Regions from separate parts of the Homo sapiens genome. Here all the other regions are linked to region 1. The links are contacts of gene promoters, found by promoter capture Hi-C in blood cells and fetal thymus (Javierre and others, 2016). All regions are on one chromosome and are shown on one strand. Each heading gives the region's core, a stretch centred on a gene start or on the middle of the fragment in contact. The rest is flanking DNA. Distances are from core to core; before and after follow the strand shown.

What was found. The method cuts DNA at HindIII sites, captures the fragments that hold promoters and counts their contacts. A CHiCAGO score of 5 or more calls a contact.
Region 2: a fragment that was not itself captured here is called in contact with the fragment with the promoter of SNX13 in region 1 in 1 of 17 cell types (neutrophils); the score reaches 6.6 in neutrophils.
Region 3: a fragment that was not itself captured here is called in contact with the fragment with the promoter of SNX13 in region 1 in 1 of 17 cell types (neutrophils); the score reaches 9.4 in neutrophils.
Region 4: a contact is called between a fragment that was not itself captured here and the fragment with the promoter of SNX13 in region 1, in 1 of 17 cell types (neutrophils). The highest score is 14.7, in neutrophils.

What each region holds. Positions count from the first base shown.
Region 1 is chr7:17,938,825-17,942,523 of GRCh38, forward strand. SNX13 (sorting nexin 13) reads right to left here and starts at 1,670. Exons shown (of 26, transcript NM_015132.5): 1 at 1,460-1,670. The coding sequence starts at 1,471. The HindIII fragment of the contact is 12,825 bases long and covers 1-3,699 here.
Region 2 is chr7:18,330,263-18,333,869 of GRCh38, forward strand. It overlaps a transcript of HDAC9 not described here. Among named protein-coding and RNA genes, the nearest start is that of HDAC9, 160 kb to the right of the region's middle. The HindIII fragment of the contact is 1,637 bases long and covers 543-2,179 here.
Region 3 is chr7:18,305,003-18,308,850 of GRCh38, forward strand. It overlaps a transcript of HDAC9 not described here. Among named protein-coding and RNA genes, the nearest start is that of MIR1302-6, 180 kb to the left of the region's middle. The HindIII fragment of the contact is 1,231 bases long and covers 1,762-2,992 here.
Region 4 is chr7:18,349,199-18,352,719 of GRCh38, forward strand. It overlaps a transcript of HDAC9 not described here. Among named protein-coding and RNA genes, the nearest start is that of HDAC9, 140 kb to the right of the region's middle. The HindIII fragment of the contact is 1,295 bases long and covers 1,580-2,874 here.

The DNA.
Region 1 (3,699 bases), core at 420-2,919:
CTTATTATAAGGCTAACTGTTCCCACTAAAATATCACACTTAAGGTAAAAATGAAACTTCTGCTACTTATAACTCTTTTTTCTAATCTATTACTGCTAATCACAACACAAACTTATGCTATAACCATAATCTCAATTAACTCCAAGAATGAAAAATCTGTAGAATTTAGAAATATAAAATGAACTTCAAACAACTAAAAATACGTACTGTAGAAGTTACAATCAACCAGTAAGTATTTATCATATGCCAGGCTCTGTGCTTAGATTAAGTACAAACAGCAAAGTATAAAGTTCCTCAAAGTTAGTCACGTTCCAAGGACCTGAAATTTCAGGCAAGTACGTGCTTTACCATCACTTTTCACAAAATAAAAGCCACTCACCTACAAATGTTTGTATTTCCTTTTTGGCCCATGTAGGAATACTTCCCATTGCCCACTAAAACTGTTTCCTATTCAGTTCAGCCCATAAAAATGCCCAATCCGGTCAGTTCCTCACGTCAGGATCCTCACAGTACTTAAAGTGAAAGGCTTCGAAAAAGGTATTTCATCAAATCACAAGGTTCAGTATTTTATGTTCAGTGACACCTACACCTGCAGATACTACAACACATAACTGGGCTAACCTGGGTCAAGTACCTAGTTGCACCGATTTAGTTCTTCCCCTTAAAGTGTTGCTAGTAAAGGCAAACTCTACTTCTTCAAAAAGTCGGCTTTTTGCAATGCCCATTAGGCACTAGAAAAGGGAAATTGATTGGTTCGTCATAGTTGCCCTACTTCCATTTCAGGTCCAAAGAAAAAAACTATTCCATAGGGAGTAACAAGGGGGCCACACGCAAATCAAGGTGGCAGATGCTAAACTGAACTTTGTGATGACCACGATTTAACCGAAAAGGTGATGGATGTGGGGGAGGGGGATGACCCAACTGAGCCATACATGTGCAGCTTGAGATAAAAAAGTCCACTTCATGAAGCAGTCAAAGTAGAGGGTGGGAAACAAACCGGTCGGGCCGAGCAACAACCCCAGGGTGCTGACCGAGCTCGGAGGCGGAGGGCCCTGGAGCCCAGGGACCAGAGAAAGGAGACCTAGGGCAAACCATAGGATCACAAGAACCAGCAGTAACGTGGAAAGGCCAACGCTGCCACAGAGTAGCGTGTAAGGGGACACGAAGAAGGGAGCGATGAGTTAGAAGGGAGTGACAGCAGGAGGGAGACCAGTGCCAGGGGCGAGTGGCAAGTGGCAACTGCGAAAGGCGAGGCACTGGCAGCCGGAGGTGGTGGGACTCTGTTGAGTCAGCACAGCTCCTACTCTGAGGGCACTTGTAGGATCCCCGCTGCTCCTCGGGCCCTGGAGCCCACGGCGAAGGGTCAGGCCCACCTTCCGTACAGATGATGTTCTCTGACGGGCTGGCGCCGGCCCCTTCCCCATTTCACAGGTAAACACTGGCCACCGTCGCCGCTTACCTCAGTTAACATTATTACACCCCGGGGAAGTGAGGTCCTCCCTAGCCTCGCCTCATGGCAACAGCCGTAGCAGCAGCGAAAACTGCTCGGGCCGCCGCCAACGGCGGCAACTGCTCCTTCAGTCTTCTCCCGGGCGGCGGTTTTACTCGGCTTCGCTGGCCTCCCCTCGGCCCGGTCGCTCGCGACGGACGCGCCGCCATCTTGGAAGAGCGACGTCCGCGTCTCGCTGCAACGTGCGTTCCCATTGGCGGGCGCAGGGGCTGCTGGCGTCTCGTGACCGTCTCCATAGCGCCGGCGCGCGGAGAAGCGGAGGTAGGCTGTCGGCAGTCGGCTTGGCGCTGACTTGTAGGACCCCGGGACCGGGCGCCTGGGCCAACTTGGGACCGCTGGGAGTGCAGAGGGGCCCCAGCGCCCGAGCCTTCCGGGAATGGACGTGCGCGCCCTTGGGGCCGGCGCATCATCCACCGCCCACTAGCGTTGGCCCGCCCTGGGGAGAGGAGAAAATGCCAGAGGCCGACACTTGACTGATGGCGCTGCGGACCTCGCTGGTCTTGGGGACAAGGCGGCAGATTTCCTTTAGAAAAACTTCCCTCTCGCGTCTCCCTGGCCCCGCGGCGACCGAAGAGTTGGGGTTCGGCTTTCTTCTCCTGGGATTTAAGTGTTATTTGAAACAGCTCCCTGCGCGGCCCTTTTCTCCTAAACTTTGACAGAAACTTCCCTTTGTCCCTACCAATCCTCAGTGAGTTCTTTACAGGGGTCCGAGACAGGTTGTAGATATGATGCGGCTTATCGGCTTTACCCCGATCCTAGCGGAGTTAGGACTTGCTGATGTAATTGGCCAGCACCTGCCTAACAATGAAGGTTTAGTTATGCTACAAGTAATGCACCTCTAAAAAAACGTAAAACAGGCTTTACGTTTTACCTGCTATCTCCACAGGTTTACTAGCTGCTTAATACAATATGCTTGTATATCAAGGTGAGCAAATTTCAGCAAATGTCATTGTAAATAGTCCCAACTTAAATGGAATTGAACTCTGGAACTCAATGTGCATAGAAGTCCCTGAGACTGACGCCATTCTAGATCTACCACTAGATGGTTTGCGATGTACGGAATTAAAGGCAGTCACTTCTACCTGAATTGTGATGAAAGTAGTTTACCTGAACATGCTGGGAAAGTGTGCTACCCTGTTTTGTATTAGAAACCAGTTTCCAAGTAAATTGAAAAGCAAATTTTCAGACTTGACATTAAAAACACCTCCATGTCATTCTTACAAGAGGTACAAAAGCATTTTAGAAAACTAAAGCCAGGAGTTTCTTCCCTTTTACCAGAATCTTTTCCCTCCATTTAACAATAGTACTGTTGTGCTAAATGAAATTTACTTAATGTATTACTCTTACAGTCTCAAAACAATAAGGGCATTGCAAACCTTGTATTATCTCTATCGTGTCAAGGAAACAAAACGGTTCATTTAAGCAGTCATGCAAAAAATTCAAGAAAAACTGATTTTGCTCAATTCAACTAATTGAAGCAAAGTAGTTTTTCTTGTTGTTTTAATCTGCATTTTGTACATCATTTCCACATTGCTGGACCAGCAAAATTCTGACCTCTGCAATACAATAAAATGTGTTACTGGTATTGACAGATGAAGCCACAAATAGAAAATGAGCATGGAAATCCTACCTGGACTGAGGTATCAAAGGATACCAAGAGATACTAGAGACAACAAGGAACCTGGAAAAAGATAGTGTTCCAACCTGTAAATAAGAAAACAGAGAAGGAGGTTCATTAATATTTAAGATACCAGCTAGTAAATTAAAACAGCAATGTAGTTGTCTGGCTTGAGTATTCAGTTTTATTTACTACATCTTTTTATCTTTTCTAGAAGCAAGGCATTAAGTGTTGACACTTGAGTATTGAACCAATCTGTGATATGACATGAATATGCCTTTAACTTTCAGAAGTTTGTCTACAGACTTACAAGGAAACCAAAAGTAGTCGCTCTTCCAATGGCTTCCTAATTTTCTCAGCCTGAGTCTTTTCTGCAACCTAAAAATCCTATGCTAGCTGGCCTCCCAAGTCCTACCTCACCTCCACCCCTCTGACCTCATTTCTGCTAAGCACTTTGTTCCAGTTACACAGACCTGCTCCCTGCTTCTGTAACACCAAGGCATCTTCTTGCCCTGAGGCCCTTACACTGTGTATAGTTTCTATCTGCAAAGATCTTTCCACCAAATACCTG
Region 2 (3,607 bases), core at 111-2,610, 390 kb after region 1:
TGTGGGGACACTTGGGGTGGTATTTCAGACACTTAGATATTTGCCGGAAATCTGAAACTTGTTAGTTCACATTTAGTTTTCACTAAATGGATTATATTTTTCTCCTAAAACTGCTATTCCACTATTAAAATTAATGGACATACAAGATACCTTGTCTGTAAATAGAACAGATATTTTTAATATTTTGTCACAGTCCCCCAAAGCATTAGTCTGTAATGTTGACTAATGGGTTGAAAAGATATTAACTTCAGAAAAACCAAAGAGAATTAATCTCTTAGAATACTTCTGAAACCACCAACTTCTGTTTTTGATTTTATATTTCTATACCTCAGGAGGGAAAAAAAAAACAACCAAAAACTATTTCCCCTCTACTCCCTCCCTGTTTTCTAAAAATAAGTCACTTTTGGTTTGTTACCTTATAACACATGCCAAAATTTATCCCAGAGTGAATTTTTGTAGCCAACTTAGAACCCCAAAATAGAAACTGCTGACAGTTCCTTAAATACAGTAACACTGGCAGGTGCCTTGGTAATAAATTCACAAGCTTAGAATCTACAAAACAATAAAGTTATGCAAATTGGAGCATGTAGGAAGAATAATCTGAAACAAATGGCAGAACAGTAAGTTTAGCATTGTGGCATCCTGGTTTTACTAACACAAGGCAAATAACCCTGAGGAGAATCAGGGAAATTTTAGATCAAGGAGGATTACACAGACATACAGTAATACATGAATACAATTTGAGTTGACCAATTAATAACTGGTTTCTCTGTTATCACAACCATAAACAGAGATGGGAAACTGATCATAGGTTTTGCATTTGATAGGTACAACTATCAAGAGGTAAATGGAAAATAACAAGACACCTAACTTGAAGTGATCACATGTGCAGAGCCTCTTAGCTTTTGTTTTAATTGTTCCTTCAGCATCATTCCCATCAGTCATATTCAGATTAGTTGTTTAATTTTAGCCAATCAGGCATGTAATACATTTGTGAATTTCATTTATTTTAAATGTCTTTGCCTTTGCCTAATTATCTTTTACTTTTGTTATTAATCTCTGATATGGCATAATGAAAAATCGTGTTTTTTAATGAAAAGAAAAGATGTGTTCAGTTAACATATTTTCAGGAAATACATATTTTCAGTTAAAATTAGAATAGCTCTAATAATATCAGACAAAAATGTAGCTGAGGAATATAGCACTACCTTTTATTAGTTGTGTAGTAAAATGTAACTTTTTGACCCTGTAGTATCGCTTGCAGAATGTAACAGAAATGTTTAACTTTTCTTGTTTTTGTTTTCATCAACCTCAAGTTACTCCCAAAGAAGTTCAAAATGTATCCCAGAACTTAAAGTATAATAAAAAAATTTTAAAAAAAGAAGTACAAAATGTCTATTGTGTACACAGGAAAAATATATTAGAATAATGATTATCTTAAGTATACTACCTACCTTATTCGAGGTGATGAAGTAGTGGACTGCTACAAGTTTGTTGGAGAGAGGGACTAGAACTGTCCTTTTAAATGCTATATTCTATATCATAGCATTTTTGTCTGGCACTTGGTAGATCCTCAATAGAGATTGCTTGAAATAATAAACAATATCACCTCCAAACTCAGGTTCACAAAATTTGAGTTCAGTGGCACAGTGGTGATCACATGTGCGGAGCCTCTTAGGAAAAGGAGGCCTAGAGAAGTATTGAGTTAGATGCTCAGGTTCCAGAGCCAGGACTGGAACACAGATACTGGACTTCTGTCAAGCACAATATACTTTTCATGGCCTTTGCCCGTCATTCAGATGTTTAAATTTGCTTAAAACAGTGCCATCTATTTTCTTTGGAGTTCGAATAAAAGTTCTTTCTAACAGAGTGAGTAATTCACACACAGATACTTAATAATTTCCCTGATTATTTTTTCATTTAGAGATTTTCAAACTAACAACCAAAATATTCTGGTAGAAATAAGGTAAGGTTGAGAAGTAAATATTATAAACTGGTCTGTTTAGCCAGAGTTCCCCTAAGAGCCTTCCTCATTCCACCTCAAAGACCATTTTTTAGTTTTTCCAAGTGTCTGTGAATTGTGGCTGTGCATGCGCACATGTGTGTGTGTGTGTGTGTGTGTGTGTGTGTGAGAGAGAGAGAGAGAGAGATTTTTACTTTAAAAAATTCTCATCACTTAAGCTTGACTGTTGCTTTTCTTCTTGCATGTAGCTTTTCTAACCAAATAAATTAAAAATACTTAAAATTGAGTATATTCCGTAATTGGTCCAATAAAAGAGGGGATGCATTGGAAGGGAGCTATGGCACAGGGATTAAAAAAAATGTTTTGCACCTGGCTCCTCTATATTAGGTGTGGAATGGCAGTCAAGCCGTTGAGCTGCTGTGGATTTCAATTAATGCATTTCTAAAATACTTTCCAGAAATTCAAGATGGTGATTATTTAAATAGTTGAAAAATACTACATCTCAATTTGGCCTATCTTTTTGTGTTGAAGATAGAGGATGTAATCTTTTTTCATGTTCAGTAGACTGTGAGCTAATAGTTTTGTTAGGGGCTGAGAAATCAACATACACCTTACGGCACTGGAGAAGCAGAAACCTGGCTTAATTTCAGAAGTGCAGGAATCTTTGACAGAAATATTCTACTGTGAGGAAATAAATTTACACAAGGATCCCTTCTCAGAGTATTTACTAAAGTCTGAAAAGCCTTAATTTATTTTATGCCAAAATTTATGTTTATGTCATGCCAAATATAGTTGCTGATATTGTTAGGTATTAATTTGTGTGCCAAAAGATACTCTTTATACTGTATTCTCTGATCACAATGTAATAAAGCAGAAATTAGTAAGAAAAAACAGTAATACAAAATAAACAACGATTTGGAAGGAACAAGCCATTAAAAACTACTGAGTCAGAGGCAGTTTTTAAACAGAGCTCAACTAGAGATAGAAATAGAGAATGTTAAAACAGTCTTTACCATTGGATGGGGTGAAGTTGGAGAGAGGAAATGGGGAGATTTAGGCCAAAGAATACAAAATAGCACATGTGTTGGATTACTAATTAAGAGATCTCATGTACAACATGAGGATTAAAGTTAATAAAATTGTACAGTATTAGGGATTTTTGTTAAGTAGATTTTAGCTGCTCTTGTCACACACAAATAGTAACTATGTGAGATGATAGCTATGTTCATCTGCTTCACTATATAGCCATTTTACTATCTCTCTATATCCCATGTCATCAGGATATAAACCTCAAATACACACCATGAAATGTGTTTTTAAAACACTTGCAATCATAGGTTATTTAGAAAATAGTAACACCATTAAGGGAATAAACAAAATGGTGCACCTTATGAGGTGCAGCCAAAGCTGTTCTCATGGCAAATATATTAGTATTAAATAATTTCACTATGAAACAACAAACAACAACAAAAAACCCCAGCAAATCATTTAGGTATTTTTTAAGGTAAAATTTAAACATAATCTAGCAATGTTAAGGAGAATGAGGTATGATAAAATATAAAGTTAAAGAATCAGTAAAAAGTGGAGTTTATATATGCAAGAGCTGGTTCTTAAAAATAATAATGACAAATGTCTGAAAATATA
Region 3 (3,848 bases), core at 1,127-3,626, 370 kb after region 1:
GAAATTCTAAATTGTGTTTCTTTATAGGATAAGAAATCAGTTTTTTGCTCACACACTCTTCCTTCAGGGCAGGAAGACCTTCTCTGACCCACCAATCTGGGTAGCACCTTTCCCTCCTGGTTATTCTCTTTTCCAGAATTCTGTATATTTCCTCCATAGCCCACTTTTTATAATTGTAATGTTTGTGTTTGTTTTTACTGGCACACTGTGTATCTTTTTCCATCTTCACTCTTGATGATAAGTGCCACAATAGCAAAAATCGTATACCCTCCACCAACCAGTGCATGTAGATATCCTAGGCCGGTGCCTGACACATAGCAGGTTCTCAATAAACAGTCATCAAATATGAAAATACATGAATAATATTAGGTTTGAGTAAAAGAAAAAGAAATATTGTTAGTTTCCCCACTTTCTCGACTAATTCTGAAAAAGGAAAATGAAAACATGTTCTGGAATAGTTTGCTTCCACTGAAGCTAGAAATCCACATTCACATTTGCTGGTCCTTTCACCTTCTTCCACTGTACCAACCCATATGTGTCCAAAGAAACATAACTCAAAGCTAAATAAAGCATGACTCCCCTTTTATCATCAGGTTTTCTGGTCTGTAAGTCAACCAGAGAAGTAGTAATCTAGAACTGTTTGAATGACACATAGTTCTGTTGTACCCTTGTAGAGCACACAAAGAAACAAAGTTTCTGATCTCTGGGCAGGGGTCTAATAGATGAGAAGACAAGACATATGCATAGCACACCATGTAATATAGAGTGAGTAAAGAGTGCAGGCAGTAATTGCTTAAGGGTTTAGGAAAGGAACTTGGTACAGTGGCCTGGGCTGATAAGGTGAACTTGGAATGGGTTGGTGAAGGGAAGTACTTCCCAGGTTTTGAGGGACTAACTGGAACGAGGAAGGTAACCTGAGCCAAGATGAGTGAGCTAGAACACCAAGATGTATTTTAGTTTGAATTTATTCCCGCCCTCAGCAATTCACTCCCCAGTCCTGAGACATGGAATGAAGTGTAAGTTGTTTATTTGGGAGGAGATCCCAGGAAACTCCAATAGGGGAAATGAGGCAGGGAATGGAAGGCAGCCAAAAAACAATATGTTATCAAGTAAGTTGGTGTGCTAGGTAACTAAAGCTTAATTCTGCTGGGGAACTCTGGAAATCTCTGTACAACAGGCACACAGGGTGAGGAGCTGGGGTATTTCAATACCAACTCCTGAACATCGTTATTAGTTGGGGGCTGCTGTGGGTAGGACTCAGACTATGGGTGGGGATGTTAATTCCTCAGCACTTCTGGCCACTGAAAAATACATCCAATCGTTACAGTTAGAAGTCAATGTCTGGCCAGTGTGTACTGCAGTCGCAAAAGCAAGGAGATATGGGTGGACTGTTGATAGCATCTGCTATGATGTGTTTTCAGAAGTAAATCTGAGTTTTACCCATGCTCCAGAAATATGTTTACATGGTTTTGAAGTAGCAGCCTTTGTAGGAAAGAAAAGATGATAGTAATCTAAGTTTAATTAAGACTGAGTAATATAGGGGTAGTTTGGAATTGACCAATAGATTCTGAAGCCTTCTACACATACTTTTGGTCTCTCTCCAAGTGGTGCTATTCGTGCTGCTGGTAATTACTTTTCTTCAACGCCTTTTGATCCAGGCATTTTCTTGCTTACGATCTTTGGATGGATATTCATGCTGGCAGGATTAAGTCTTAACTCCTCAGACTTTAAGATTTCTACAGTTATTTCAACTGTTTTTCAAGCTTCATCAATATTGCTGAATATAAATTCTTCACTCCAACCAGACTTATTTACTCACACTCCTTTTTGCTTGTGCTATTTTGGATTTGCGAAACACCCCCCACTTACTTAAATTCTTTCCATTCTCCATGTCTGTTTCCAAACTCCCTCATGCAGCCATCTCCCCTGGTCATCTGAGCCAGCAGGCTGAGATCTCACTTCTCTCGTGGACCTCATTCCACAGTTAACATTGTGACATGTATTCTATCTATTAATGTGAAGTTAATTTTTTCTTATGTTATTAAATTTATTGTGTGTTTATATCTTGGCCCTTCAGCTACAGGAGGGCAGTTCTTGTGTGTGTGTGTGTGTGTGTGTGTGTGTGTGTGTGTGTGTGTGTGTTTGTATAGGAGGAGGCAAGAGTATCTTTTTTAAAGCCATACCTCTCAAGTTCAAATCCTGGCTTCCTCATTTATGAGCTTTGAGTCCGTGGGCAAGTAATTGACACCTCAACAACCATGAACATTTATACCTGTTAATCCATGAGTACAAAGGGAGGGCACATAAATGAAAGTTCTGACGTGTATTAGAAAGGTTCTGAATATGAGAATCATCTTGAACACATTGAATTTTGTGAAAATAATGGTAATTGTTCAAGACCATTATAAAAAAATTCATTTCCCCCAAAGTTCTTGTTACCATGTCATTTTCACAAATAAAGTGCTTGCTCTTTCTTAGATTCTAAAACTAGTTTCTAACATTATAAAATCAAAATTATTGCCTGGTGCCATGGCTCACGCTTGCATTCCCAGCACTTTGGGAGTGTGAGGCGGGCAGATCACCTGAGGTCAGGAGTTGTGGGCCAGGCTGACCAACATGGTGAAACCCTGCCTCTATTAAAAATACAAAAATTAGCCAGGTATGGTGGTACATACATGTAGCCCCAGCTACTCGGGAGGCTGAGACAGGAGAATCCCTTGAGCCCAGGAGGCAGAGGTTGCAGTGAGCCAAAATTGTGCCGCTGCACTCCAGCCTGGGTGACAGAGTGAGACTCTGTCCCAAATTTTTTTTAAATTGTAAAATTGAAAAAAATCGTAATTATTATTAAAGTCATAGTAATATTTTAAAAACAATTATCACACATTAACAAAACAGCCGATGTCACTAACACCAAAGGTCAGGGTGTGGAATATATGCACCAATGGTTCTCCATCTGACTAGATATACTTTCCAGGAAATGAAAATACTTGGAAGCTTTTCAAAAAGTTCTAGAAGAAAAACCATTTCTGATACCTACAAATATACATGTATATGAAAGTGTTACAAATATAAAAATACATGTTTTCAAACTCAAATGTAATTTTAAGAACTTTGCCTTAATTTATATTGCCAAGTAGCTTAAACATTTTAATAGTGTCACTGACTGATGTTGATTGTTAAAGACTTCATCCAATTTACGAAGTTGGTTTTAGCAATCTATATGAACTAGGTTAATTAAAATGTGAAATTTGCAAAACCAAGCCTACGTAGAATACTTTTAAACATCAGAAGAAAATAAATCACTGTTGTAGCCTTGTTTCTTTCATAGTTATATAAATTTGCTTAACCATATACAAGAAAAGAACTTTTCTTTTGAGGAAAAGGTACACTCGAACTCTGATCTGTAATTATTTAAGCTTTGGGCACTTCATAGCCTAATCATCATTTGCTGTAAATATACCATACTCCCTTTCAAAATGATATTTAATCTGCATTTAGTACGTGGTATTGGATTTTACATTTCTTAAAGATATATAAAAGTTTTGGTGTACTCAGTAGGTGATTGAAGATGTGCTACTTCATGGAGAAAAATATATTAGGTGTGTCTGACCTGGAAAGAATGTTCTATTAATCTTTTTCTTGTGTCAGATTTATAACAAAAAGAAGTGGAAACTATATTAAGCAAGGATATAAGTTACATATATATATATGTGTGTACGTGTGTATATATATCTGTAGGATATGAAAAGATGTTAGCCATTATATTTTCTCTTATTCTTGCTGTTCTCTAATTTAAACTCAAATTCTGGGGATTCGTATGAGTTTTTATGGGTAAATACTAAGACAGG
Region 4 (3,521 bases), core at 977-3,476, 410 kb after region 1:
TTTGTTGGTCCCTGTGCTTGAAACTGTCTTGCCTTAGGTAAGCTGTGCACCTCTCCCTGACCTCATTAGAGATGTCTTTCCAGATGACCTCCCATACTTGAGAACATCTACACACACACACACACACACACACACACACACACACACACACACACACACACACAGATATTGCCCTTCCTCCTTGCTGGCTTATTTTTTCTCTATAGCAGTGATCAACAGCTAACATCTTAACATCTAATATAGTTTTCTTTATTTTTTCTTTCTCCCAGTATAATGTTAGTGCCTGAGAATGGTAGCTTAATGTTATCTGCTTTATCCCCACTGCCTAGCACATAGCAGGGATGCAATAAATATTTGATTCTCAAACATTGAATTGGGGGACATATCTGATATTCTTTATGTTAGTAATTTTATAATTTTCACAGCATTAGAACTTCATATGTGATATCTTGGTGGTTACCCTAATATTGTCTTTGTTAAGTATACTTTTCTAAACAAAGTTCCTGACAAAAAAAAAAATGTGGTGTTGTGTTTTACTTTTCACGCCAACAGGAATAGCACTATGCAGAAAAAATATGTCTTTCTATGTAGAATATTTAGAATAAAAGGTTTTTGGAAAGATCCCTTACTCAAATAATGAAGTGGCTATTCAATATTAATACTTAGTATATTTCAGTTGTTCTTTGCTTTGGAAATTAGGGCTTTGGAACATATGTGAGAATTAGGTATTACTTCAGTATTAGGAGGTCTTCTACTTGCTGACAGAATACTTCGTTTGTGCCAGTTCTGGCCATCATTCATTATTATTAATAGTAGTATATAAGCATGGTAATGCTAATTCAATAGGTTTTCCAGGTTTTTTCTCCCTCTTGTTATTATCTTTTATTTTGAAGTTTGCCTTTATTTCAAGTTGTATTTGTGGGTATTCAGAATTATTGTACCTGTGTATAACTCAGTGGTTCAAAAGTCATTAGTCTTTAATAAATTAGAATTTATTTTAAAAATTCAAGATCTGAAAACATCATTTCATTGACTCTCAAGTAATGTTAATGCCAAGTTTTGAAAAGCAATTTTTCTTTTTGGAGGCAGTAATTTTGAGTAATTGGATTCCATGAAAAAAATGGATTCAGGAGCTAATTGTGTACCAGGTTTACTGGCATTTGTGCAAAACAACATTTAGCAACTGTCAGTGACAATACTCATCTAATTTCTCTTTATCACCAGCTGGTCAATCACGTATCTTCATCAATACAAGTATTTTAATTTCCTCTTTCAGGTATCCTCTTTGTGTGTTTTCTTCCTTCTCACTCTCCCTTCTCTCCTTATTTTAAGCTACTTTAGAAAATAGTAATACTTTACTGATGTGTAAGATGCAAATCACTTTGGAAGTGAGAAGGTGGATATTTATACATTTGTTCTATGACGGGGTTTCTAAGTCTGTCCCACTGGGAATGGTTAGTACATTCCATAGCTGTAAGGGAAAAATCCACTTTTCCCAGAAATAAAGGTCAAGAGACATGGAACAACTCTTTTATTATTTGCTTTCAAAACAGAGGGAATATGATTTATGTCGAATATAAGCTTATGTCATAGCTGTGCAGGTGCTGCCGTGAAGCTGTGACCCCTGTCTAATCCCCATAACGACACTGGGCATTGACCACATTTGCTTTGTAGTTACTGAGCTGCTTTCCCAGGGGCCTTCTAGTTTCTGAACCCAGCCGCTGGGTAGCTGGTCGACCCGTGCTTGGTGCAAGAACATTGTTTTGTAAGTGCAACCTGAAATACATTTTATAACCCCTGCCTAAGTTAAATGACTGTAGGTCTGTGACGGAGCCTCTGTGATTGAATCAAAGTCTCCTCTTAACTCCTTTTTTTCCTTCATGAATTTAGTAGTCGGCTGTAAATAGTTTTTTCTGCTTTATTTTTTATTGCGTTAAACATAATCACAATGATTTATTTCAAAAACACTAAACAGTTGCTTGATATTTACAAGATAAAATGTAATACTGACTTTAATACATCATTGCCTGATTTACTTATATAATTTTTATTTATCGTTGTAAGATAGTTAACATTTTTCCATGTTGCTTCAATATTTTTCCCCTTAAAGATTAATGACTTGGTAAAATTTGCAGTAATCACACAAAAAATTTGTTTTCCAATTTCATTCTGTCTTCCAACATTTTGATCTCCCAGAGTTTTAATATTTTTTAAGTTTCCTATGTGTTATGAATTGTAAAATAAAACAAAAATCCCCCAAAACAAAAAAAGACAGCTATATTAAAAGTATCAACTTTATTTTAAATCTTATTAATGCTTTTTATAATGGGAGGGAAGATATATATATTTAAATGACCATGTAAAGCAAAGTGAGGAAGTTAGGAACCAGGACGCTGAAGCTAAACTGAAGTTGAATCTCAGCTCTATCATGTCCCAGCTCTGTGATTTTGTTAATCTCTCAAAATCTGCCTCATCTGTAAAAAAAGGTGAATGATAGTAAAACTATCTGTTGCATAGCTGTTGTGATTATTAAATGAGTTAGCATTTGCAAAGCCCTACATAAATATTTGCTGTGTAGATAATGTTTAATTTTGTCAAGAACTTTTAAAAGATGTGTTTTGAGTCATTCATACAGGCACACACACAGGTTATTACAATTTTATCAAGAAATTATTAGCCTTGTCTTAAATCTCAAAAAATTTGAATTGACGGTGAATATGTGGAAAGTGACAATATACAAGGTTATCCACTATTGGAAGGTGTGTGTGGAACAGAACAGAACTAGATCACATAGCTGTGGAGAACAAAAGCTCAAGAAGAAAAAAATTCAAAATGAGTTTATATTTTTCTCACAATAACTGTGGGCACCCTTCAAGCTTCAGTTAAGTGATGACAACATAATTAGACAGTAAAATATTCTGTTTCTGAACTGTTCTTTGTGTGACCTTCAGTTATCTCTGAGGATCCTCAGGTTTCTTAAGGTTTCCTTAGGCTGTCTGTTTAATCTGATTTTTCTGAAAAATGTACATGAATAAATAGGCCCTCCAACCAAAAATATTAATATTTAACATTTAGCCAAAGAGGTAGCAAATATTATTTTCAAACAAAATGAAGTAAGATAGAAGAGCTGAGACAATATAATATTCTGCTTAGAGGGAAACAGTAGGTTGCCACTGATTTTTAGTCCTGTGTTTTGAAAACTATTTGAGATAGAAGGACTAAAATTGCAATGAAGATTACTGCAACACAGTTACTTGGTCCTCCTATCATTAATTGATTAAAGGTAATTGCCAGGGAGTCACCTCTGGAGGGCAGTGCAGTCTTATATTTGTTGCAGGAGCTCCAGGTACCTTTAAATTTTCCAGAAGTTCATTTCAAAGATTCTTGGCCTTGTGAGATGTGAGTCATTCCCCGTTTTAAATACTCAAAGGGAACGTAAAGGTGAAAACAAACTCTTTTTCGTTATGATGGTTAGCATGCTAGATTCAGGGAAAATGACGGGAAATAGGACTTACCATATA